Linked DNA regions of Homo sapiens: region 2 is linked to region 1. The links are contacts of gene promoters, found by promoter capture Hi-C in human tissues and cell types (Jung and others, 2019). All regions are on one chromosome and are shown on one strand. The core of a region is centred on a gene start or on the middle of the fragment in contact, and the rest is flanking DNA. Distances in the headings are between cores, read along the strand shown.

Region 1 (5,288 bases), core at 2,517-5,016:
TTCTCTACTCCTCTCTCCCTCTCTTCCTTTCCCTCCCTCTCCCTTCCCTCTCCCTCCGTCTCTCCTTTTCCTCTCCTTCCCTCTCTCCCTTCTGTGCCCTCTCTCCCCCATGTCTCTCCTGCTCCTTCTCTTCCTCCCCCCTTCCCCCCTCATTCTCTCTCCTCTCCCACCCCTTCCCCCTCATTCTCTCTGCTCTCCCACCCCCTTCCCCCCTCTTACCTCTCTCCCTCTCTCCCCATTCTTTCTCCCTCTACCCTTCTCCTTCTCTGCTTCCCACTCCAATTCTCCCTCTCTTCCTTCCCCCTCCCCTTCTCTCTGTCCCTCTCGCCCCCTCCCTCCTTTTCCCCTACCCTCTCTCCTTCTCTTCTCCTTTCTCTCTCCCTGCCCTCTCTTTCCCTTCCCTCTCTCCCTTTTTCCCCTTCCCTCTCTCTCTTTCCCTTCCCTCTCTCCCTTTTTCCCCCTTCCCTCTCTCTTTCCCCTTCACTGTCTCTTCCCGTCTCCCCCTTCCCTCTTTCCCAGCCCCTTCCCCCTCCCCGTCCCTCTCTCCCTCTCTCCCCCTTCTTTCTCCCTCTCCCCCTCTTCTTCTCCCCTCCCCACTCCAATTCTCCCTTCCCTCCTTCCCTTCTCTCTGTCCCTCTCCTCACTCCCTCTCTCCCTCTTTTCCCCTTCCCTCTCTCCTTCTCTTCTACCTTCTTTCTCCCTCCCTTCTCTTTCCCTTCCGTCTCTCCCCTTTTTCCCCCTTCCCTCTCTCCGTCTCTTTCTCCTTCTCTGTGCCTCTCCCGGTCTCCCCCTTTCTTCTCTCCTTCTCTCCCTCCTCCATTTCCCCCCTTTCCTTCTCTCTCCCTCTCTCCCCGACACCCCACATATCTGTTAGAAGTGGAGGTGAGAGGAGCTGGCCGCCCTGGTTCTCTGGTTGTTCAGCCTGGGGGCTGCGGTCCCAGATGGTGCCTGGTGCCCCGAGAAGGGAGAGGGGGTGGGGTGGGGGGTGGAGGCCGCCCACCGATTCCCCTCCCCCTCCTTTCGTCCTGGAAAGGGGCTCCCGGATGTCCCGGGATGTGGCAGCGTGGTAGGGGCAAGGCGGGCATCTGCCTAAGTACCAGAACTTACAGGAGGAGGCGCTTCCCGGTTTAACAGGAAGAAACTGGGCAGCAGGACTTCCTTCTGGGTTTTAACTTCGCGTCCCCAGGACAAATTCCCTTTCCCTCCCTAGAAGCCCTGGGGGTCACTCGCTTCCACAGAACCGGGCAGGTCCCCAGGGGTGTCCAGGCAGCACCTCGGCCCCCAGCCCCGGGCCGGACACCCTGAGGACCGGGCGAGCGAAGGGGAGACGCGGGGTCGGCGGGCTCCGCTACCTGCGCGCCGGCCCCCTCGGCCCCGGGATCCAGGTCCTCCGGCCCCCGCAGGAACCACCATTGGATCTCCAGATACACCGAGGCGGAGCCGCTCTGGAAGGCGCAGGACATCTCCACATTCTGCCCCTCGGTCGCCGTCACGTTCCGCGGAAACTCGGTAAATTTTGCTGCAAAACAGAAAGGCATCCTGTTGGAATATCCACACCCCTCTTGCCTGAGTCTCTTTCCTTGAGAGCTCGCTACATTTTTCCTGGACTTAAATAGCAACAAAACCCCTCTCTTACATCCTCGGCTTCGTCTGGTTCCCCCAGCCCCCTTCCTTTGCCTCTTTCCTGTCTAACTTTTGGTATCATACCTAAATCACTATGTTGTTGATCAAATCCAGATAATGGAAAGGTTAACAAGCTTGCCAATAACTCTTAGCCAAGATCCCCGCAGGTAGATCCAAATACCTTTTGTCAGATTGCAGTATTCCACAACATTTACTGAGAGAGTCAGTGAGATACAATTTAGGCAATCTGTCAAGTTGATAAATGAGGAGAGTCTCTTGCCTCTAAGTTTCTAAACAATCTACCACTAACTGGATGTTTCATGTAACAGAGTAGATCATGATTATCTGTCAAAATGCACATTCCTGATACATCAAAACGGTTATTAGCAACACCAGTGAAACACGCCTGCAGCAGTGAAACAAGTTGCACACTTTATAAACTGTATATGTTTCCTTCTCTCCAAATTAACCTTTATTTGTTCCCATCAAGTCACTGTATTTTGAATTGCCATACATCTTAAGATGTAATGATCACACATCCAGGCTTAGTTCAGATTAAATATTATTTAGAAGTCACTATGGAGATGTTTCTCAGCCTTTTCATTACCAACCTTGACACTGCTAGTTTGCAAGATTCATGCAACCCTGGTGAAACTCACAAAAATATAATGTTTCCTTCCTCCTAAAGGCATTTCTTGAACATGCAATGCTCTTATCTTGTTACCAACGTGGTTGTTCTTATCTTATCTAAGGGGCACTTTGCAAAGAGCTGATGGTTCCCTAAAAGCAGTCCTGGGAAGATTTGTATGGCCAGTGGAAATGCACAACCACAATGCACACTTATGGAGAAGAGGGCCATGGGGAATGCAGAAATGATTTGGGGTGGATGCACTCCTCCCCCCACCCCTCACCTCACCCCCGGTTTAAAGAGAGACACTGTCTCTTTTCAACATTTTATGAAATCCCAAAAATGATCTCTAGTGAAATGAAACTATATTTGTACCTAAAACAGGGAAGCTATTAAGGAGACATTCTGATCGGAAAAGGGCTTTTCTATTCTAGCTGGCAGAAGGAGTATGGCATTTCTGCTTGCAGAAGTGATGCAGTCTTTTGGCACCAGAGATGTGATCTGTTCATGGTGCTGAAACGACCACTGCAGCCTACGAAGTCCTGAACAATCGGGTTCAGCAGGCTGCTGCTGCTTGTCATGCAAGTTGTGGCTTTTTATGGGTCCTCAGAGGAGTCTGTCCTTTGATAAACACACATACAAAAGGAGTCACACGGACCTACAAAAGGGAAACTCTAAGCCCAGTCTGACTACACAAGGAAGAGGGACTGGCAATGGAGAGTCCCAGTATCCAGCCCTGTGTTTGTTTGCGATGATTATGTATGCATGAGTGGCTACCCTGTGCATGCACACAGATAGAAAGCACACACACACCCACACACACACACCACACGACCCTGTGTTTGTGCTCACCGAGGAGCCCACCTCATTGTCAGGCACCAGCTAGATTTTCTCTCCAGCCTAGCTAGTCTACAGTTTAATAAACTTTAAAAAAAATCGTCAAACAGAACACTATTTATACAGCCTAAGCCCACTGTTACTTGCTAGGAAGCTTATTCTATCTGCCTGTCCATTCTTTTTGAGTGTAGGAAACACACACACACGCAAGCAAATGTATATTTGCCATTGAGCAAGACTTACCTTGAGAAGAAAGCCCTTGTTGTACATATAAAACGGAAAAGAAAACAAATCCAACATACACCAAAAAGATCCCCATCATTCCAAAAAGGGAGGGGGGTCACATCAGTGTAGCCAACAGCCGAAAAGCCCTGAAAGAAAGGCGTGCGAGTGGATGGCAGGCTCAGTCTCAGAGCCCTGGGCGCGACACTGCAAACATCCTGCTGCTTGCTTGGCGAGGGCTGGCTGTGGGGAGAAGGGATTGCGATTCTGGAAGGTTAGAACCAGCTGGCTGGGATTCAGCGAGGCTTCCTGCGGAGCCCAGGCTGGAATCGCTGGGAAGTGTCTCGGCTGCCTGGCTGCCTGCTTTCAGCTACCTGGCAGCTCGTCCAACGTCAGCCCGCCGCTCCGGCTTGCGTGATCACTGCCCTCCCTAAACACGGAGCCGGCTCGGGAAGTGGGGAGTGGGCAAGCGGGGCGGGCTGAGGACTTCGCCGGGCTCGCGGCGCCGCAACTTTTCCCTCTAATGGCTGCGATGATGCCTTTAACTCTGTGCGCGCTGGACAGCGCCCCGCCCGGGAGCTCGCGCCGGGCGGCCGCGGAGGGCGCAGGGCTCGTCGGCGCCGCTGGGGTCTCCCTTCTGGAGAGCAGGGACGTCGGTTTTTTTCCACTTTGCTTCTCTCCCCCATCGGGTGTCTTTCTGGCTCGGCGGATCAGATCGCTCGGTGCCGAGGAGGACAATACAGTGACGGGATTGCGGCGCTGGCGGGGGGCTCGGAGCAAAAGGTTCCGGGAGGGAGTTGGGGCATTGCTGAGGACCGGGGAGCAATGGGATGGGGGAGAGACGGGTGGGCCGAGGAAAACAGCCATTTAGGGAAATGCCGCTTACCCAGTTATTAACTGCTCCAACCAGGAGCATCACATGCTACGATTTCACACGAATTTCTTGCTGAACAGCTTTCAGTACAAGCAGCTCATGCAGGAGCCATATCGCTCCAGCTGGCAGACGGAGAAGAGAAAAAGTACAAAAAGTCACGCATTGAGGGAATTTTCTGGAAAGAAAAGCCCACCATACTATGTTTACTTTTTAAAAAATTACATACCTCCTGCCTTCTTTTCCTTCATCTTCCATGTATTTTGGAGGGGGGAGGGGTTTTAAATACCGTTAAGGTCTTCATTACGTGATTTTGTTTTGTTTATTTGCTTTTCTTTTGCATAGCACAATACTTATGTAATGTTCCCTGGGACTAAGTGAATAAGGAATCTTATTTTAGACACAAAAAATCACAATAAGTTTCAGAATGTGGAACAAATCTACTTATCTGCCTTGGTGAAGATTTGAGATGTACATTCTATTTTTAATTAAGAACTGAAACAACAATGTATATTATGTTAAAGACTCTATCTGACCTTATGCAATCCAACTATTAGTGGATTTAAATTTTTTTTAACAAAATTAATAGCATTTGCCATCTAAGAAGAGCACACATTTTTTATTCCCATTATTATTTCTATGCAACTATGCCACAAATTTTCAGTATTAGTTTGAAATATGAATTAGTCTTAATAATGCTATCAGGAAGCCAATGTAGGGTATGTATTTTCATTTTACAGATAAAGAATTTGTAGTTGGCTAATGCCTTTACTAGCCAGAAAAAAAATTAACCTTAACATAGCGGTTGCATTTTAAATCACTTATCTTCTATTGCTGAATGCAGCAATAACTTAAAGCTCAGAAAACTAAAGACACAATAACGTCATCACAATATTATTTATTTTCTGAAAGTATATTTATTTTTTACTGTGAGTAGGGGCAGAATATGGGATTTGGAGACAATCATGGGAGATATTTTATATCTGTTCATGTTTAGGCCAACCAGACTCTGTATCCTCCTTGTATTTAGCAAAGGATTTTGAAGTTTATCGTTCTAAGAAAGGAAATCACTTTATGTTCAAACATTCATGGACAATGAGTTCAGAA
Region 2 (5,593 bases), core at 1,662-4,161, 39 kb after region 1:
CAATTACAAAGGGAATAGAAAGATGATAGGCTCAAAATGCACTATATTAAAAATGACATAAATTTTGAATGTACTAACATTCCAGTTTGAAAACAGATATTGTCATAATAGTTATTAAAAAATGAGCATGATCCAACCATTTCTATAAAAAAGAGACACACTTTAGATATAAGGCCACAGAAGGATTTAAATTGAAAGATTGGAAAGAAGATATAAAGGTGGTCCTCGTTATTCACTGATTCCAAGTTTGCCTACTAGTCAAAATGTATTTGTAACTCCTAAATCAGTATTCTGTGTTTTCACAGTCGTGCTCAAACCTGTGCAGAGTGGTGAACATTTTGAGTCTCTTAAGGGCACATTCCCAGACGAAGTCAAATGAGGTCCCATTCTGCCTTCTTGTTTTAGCTCTTCCATTGTTCAGAAGTATCCTTTTTATGATCTACTTAGTGCCATATTTTTTTTGCATTTCTGTGCTTTGTGTTGGTGACTTTTCTGTTTAAAATTGCTCCCAAGGTTAGTGCTGAGGTTCTGGTGTTCACAAGAACAAGAAGGCTGTGATGTGCCTTATGCAGAAAATACCTGTGTTGGAGAAGCTTCCTGCCAGTGTGAGTGATAGTGCAGTTGGCTGTGCGTTTAATGCTAATGAATTAACAATGCATATTAGGTAAGGTGTCATTATATAGAAACACACATAAAACAAGGTTATGTATTGCTCAGTTCATGAAATGTTTGTGATCAGAGGCTCACAGAAACCTAACCCAGTAATTCCCCTGGGGACAATGGTTTAATATTTGTTAATTCAGTGCTCACAACTAACACTAATTCATGCAACTTTATAGAGCATAATTACATGGATAATGAGAATCGACTGTATGAAGAAAGCAGTAACCAGTAAAATCATGGTGTGATTATAGTACTACCAGAAAAATCAGACTTTAAATTATTCCTAGACATAAAGAGGGGGATTTTATAATGATGAAAATGCCAATTTAACAAGAAGAAATCAAACAATAAATTTGTATGTATTTAATAACATCAAAATATACTAAACAAAAATTGTAGAGAAACAAGGAGAAATAGAAATCTTTTCATCAGTAGAGATTTCAACACACCACAAGTAGCAGAGTGAACAATCTCAATATCAGTAAAACAGAAGATTTGGACAACAGGATTAAATAATTTGACCTAATTGACACATGGAGAACACCACTTCCCACAACTGTAGCATTCACATTTCTTTCTAGTACACATGGGCACATGTGTCATTTATCAAAATAAACTATATTATGCAGGGCCACAAAGCAGGTTTTAGTAAATTTCAAAGGAATGAAATATAATAATGCAAGTTATAATCTCTGATTATAGTGGAATTAAACCAGAAACCAATAACAGAAAGATAACTAGAAAATCCTTAGATGGTTGGAAATTAAGCAACAAACTTTTAAAAATCTATAGGTCACAAAAGTGATCGCAATAAAAATTTGAAATCTTTTTATATGAGTTATAGAAAAGCAAAGCATATAAATTTCACGTGAGAGAGAGTTGAAACAATGTTTGAGAGGAAATTTATGGCTTATTTTAAATGCACATATAAGAGAAGAAAAAAATGGCTCTTAGAAATGTTCAGACTCGGTGGAGCCAAGATGGCCTAAGAGGAACAGCTCCAGTCTACAGCTCCCAGCGTGAGTGACGCAGAAGACAGGTGATTTCTGCATTTCCATCTGAGGTACTGGGTTCATGTCACTAGGGAGTGCCAGAAAGTGGGTGCAGGACAGTGCATGCAGCGCACCGTGCGCGAGCCGAAGCAGGGCGAGGCATTGCCTCACTCGGGAAGTGCAAGGGGTCAGGGAGTTCCCTTTCCTAGTCAAAGAAAGGGGTGACAGACGGCACCTGGAAAATTGGGTCACTCCCACCCCAATACTGCGCTTTTCCAATGGGCTTAAAAAATGGCACACCAGGAGATTATATCCTGCACCTGGCTCAGAGGGTCCTATGTCCACGGAGTCTCACTGATTGCTAGCACAGCAGTCTGAGATCAAACTGCAAGGCGGCAGTGAGGCTGGGGGAGGGGTGCCCACCATTGCCCAGGCTTGCTTAGGTAAACAAAGCAGTGGGGAAGCTTGAACTGGGTGGAGCCCACCACAGCTCAAGGAGGCCTGCCTGCCTCTGTAGGCTCCACCTCTGGGGGCAGGGCACAGACAAACAAAAAGACAGCAGTAACCTCTGCAGACTTAAACGTGCCTGTCTGACAGCTTTGAAGAGAGTAGTGGTTCTCCCAGCATGCAGCTGGAGATCTGAGAATGGGCAGACTGCCTCCTCAAGTGGGTCCCTGACCCCTGAGCAGCCTAACTGGGAGGCACCCCCTAGTAGGGGCAGACTGACACCTCACACGGTGGGGTACTCCTCTGAGACAAAACTTCCAGAGGAACGATCAGGCAGCAGCATTTGCAGTTCACGAAAATCTGCTGTTCTACAGCCACGGCTGTTCTGCAGCCACCGCTGCTGGTACCCAGGAAAACAGGGTCTGGAGTGGACCTCTAGCAAACTCCAACAGACCTGCAGCTGAGGGTCCTGTCTGTTAGAAGGAAAACTAACAAACAGAAAGGACATCCACACCAAAAACCCATCTGTATGTCACCATCATCAAACACCAAAAGTAGATAAAACCACAAAGATGGGGAAAAAACAGAGCAGAAAAACTGGAAACTCTAAAAAGCAGAGCACCTCCCCTCCTCCAAAGGAATGCAGTTCCTCACCAGCAATGGAACAAAGCTGGACGGAGAATGACTTTGACGAGTTGAGAGAAGAAGGCTTCAGACGATCAAACTACTCTGAGCTACAGGAGGAAATTCAAACTAATGGCAAAGAAGTTAAAAACTTTGAAAAAAAATGAGATGAATGTATAACTAGAGTAACCAATGCAGAGAAGTGCTTAAAGGAACTGATGGAGCTGAAAGCCAAGGCTTGAGAACTACGTGAAGAATGCAGAAGCCTCAGGAGTTGATGCGATCAAATGGAAGAAAGGGTATCAGTCATGGAAGATGAAATGAATGAAATGAAGCAAGAAGGGAAGTTTAGAGAAAAAAGAATAAAAAGAAACGACAAAGTCTCCAAGAAATATGGGACTATGTGAAAAGACCAAATCTACGTCTGATTGGTGTACCTGAAAGTGACGGGGAGAATGGAACAAAGTTGGAAAACACTCTGCAGGATATTATCCAGGAGAACTTCCCCAATCCAGCAAGGCAGGCCAACATTCAGCTTCAGGAAATACAGAGAACGCCTGGAGAAGAGCAACTGCAAGACACATAATTGTCAGATTCACCAAAGTTGAAATGAAGGAAAAAATGTTAAGAGCAGCCAGAGAGAAAGGTCGGGTTACCCACAAAGGGAAGCCCATCAGACTAACAGCTGATCTCTCAGCAGAAACTCTACAAGCCAGAAGAGAGTGGGGGCCAATATTCAACATTCTTAAAGAAAAGAATTTTCAACCCAGAATTTCATATCCAGAGAAACTAAGCTTCATAAGTGAAGGAGAAATAAAATCCTTTACAGACAAGCAAACGCTGAGAGATTTTGTCACCACCAGGCCTGCCCTAAAAGAGCTCCTGAAGGAAGCACTAAACATGGAAAGGAACAACCGGTACCAGCCACTGCAAAAACATGCCAAATTGTAAAGACCATCAAGGCTAGGAAGAAACTGCATCAACTAACGAGCAAAATAACCAGCTAACATCATAATGACAGGATCAAATTCACACATAACAATATTAACTTTAAACGTAAATGGGCTAAATGTTCCAGTTAAAAGACACAGACTGGCAAATTGGATAAAGAGTCAAGACCCATCAGTGTGTTGTATTCAGGAAACCCATCTCACGTGCAGAGACACACATAGGCTCAAAATAAAGGGATGGAGGAAGATCTACCAAGCAAATGGAAAACAAAAAAAGGTAGGGCTTGCAATCCTAGTCTCTGATAAAACAGACTTTAAACCAACAAAGATCAAAAGAGACAAAGAAGGCCATTACATAATGGTAAAGGGATCAATTCAACAAGAAGAGCTAACTATCCTAAATATATATGCACCCAATACAGGAGCACCCAGATTCATAAAGCAAGTCCTGAGTGACCTACAAAGAGACTTAGACTCCCACACAATAATAATGGGAGACCTTAATACCCCACTGTCAACATTAGACAGATCGATGAGACAGAAGGTTAACAAGGATACCCAGGAATTGAACTCAGCTCTGCACCAAGTGGACCTAATAGACATCTACAGAACTCTCCACCCCAAATCAACAGAATATACATTTTTTTCAGCACCACACCACACCTATTCCAAAATTGACCACATAGTTGGAAATAAAGCACTCCTCAGCAAATGGAAAAGAACAGAAATTATAACAAACCGTCTCTCAGACCACAGTGCAATCAAACTAGAACTCAGGATTAAGAAACTCACTCAAAACCACTCAACTACATGGAAACTGAACAACCTGCTCCTGAATGACTACTGGGTACATAACAAAATGAAGGCAGAAATAAAGATGTTCTTTGAAACCAACGAGAACAAAGACACAGCATACCAGAATCTCTGGGACACATTCAAAGCAGTGTGTAGAGGGAAATTTATAGCACTAAATGCCCACAAGAGAAAGCAGAAAAGATCCAAAATTGACACCCTAAAATCACAATTAAAAGAACTAGAAAAGCAAGAGGAAACACATTCAAAAGCTAGCAGAAGGCAAGAAATAACTAAAATCAGAGCAGAACTGAAGGAAATAGAGACACAAAAAAACCCTTCAAAAAATTAATGAATCCAGGAGCTGGTTTTTTGAAAAGATCAACACAATTGATAGACCGCTAGCAAGACTAATAAAGAGGAAAAGAGAGAAGAATGAAATAGATGCAATAAAAAATGATAAAGGGAATATCACCACTGATCCCACAGAAATACAAACTAGCATCAGAGAATACTACAAACACCTCTACACAAATAAACTAGAAAATCTAGAATAAATGGATAAATTCCTCGACACAAACACTTTCCCAAGACTAAACCAGGAAGAAGTTGAATCTCTGAATAGACAAATAACAGGCTCTGAAATTGTGGCAATAATCAATAGGTTACCAACAAAAAGAGTCCAGGACCAGATGGATTCACAGCCGAATTCTACCAGAGGTACAAGGAGGAGCTGGTACCATTCCTTCTGAAACTATTCCAATCAATAGAAAAAGAGGGAATCCTCCCTAACTCATTTTATGAGGCCAGCATCATCCTGATACCAAAGCCTGGCAGAGACACAACCAAAAAAGAGAATTTTAGACCAATATCCATGATGAACATTGATGCAAAAATCCTCAATAAAATACTGGCAAACCGAATCCAGCAGCACATCAAAAAGCTTATCCACGATGATCAAGTGGGCTTCATCCCTGGGATGCAAGGCTGGTTCAACATATGCAAATCAATAAATGTAATCCAGCATATAAACAGAACCAAAGACAAAAACCACATGATTATCTCAATAGATGCAGAGAAGTCCTTTGACAAAATTCAACAATGCTTCATGCTAAAAACTCTCAA

Evidence for each region. Contacts are between HindIII fragments. The study calls those that stand out against the background at their distance.
Region 2: a fragment that was not itself captured here is called in contact with the fragment with the promoter of VSTM2A in region 1 in 2 of the 25 tissues and cell types used here (spleen and stomach).

Annotation. Positions count from the first base shown.
Region 1 is chr7:54,540,853-54,546,140 of GRCh38, reverse strand. VSTM2A (V-set and transmembrane domain containing 2A) reads right to left here and starts at 3,766. Exons shown (of 5, transcript NM_001301009.2): 1 at 3,332-3,766; 2 at 1,353-1,519. The coding sequence starts at 3,410. RefSeq lists enhancers at 822-1,334, 3,628-4,128. The HindIII fragment of the contact is 8,953 bases long and covers 2,501-5,288 here.
Region 2 is chr7:54,500,923-54,506,515 of GRCh38, reverse strand. No RefSeq gene overlaps it. Among named protein-coding and RNA genes, the nearest start is that of VSTM2A, 39 kb to the left of the region's middle. The HindIII fragment of the contact is 3,110 bases long and covers 1,357-4,466 here.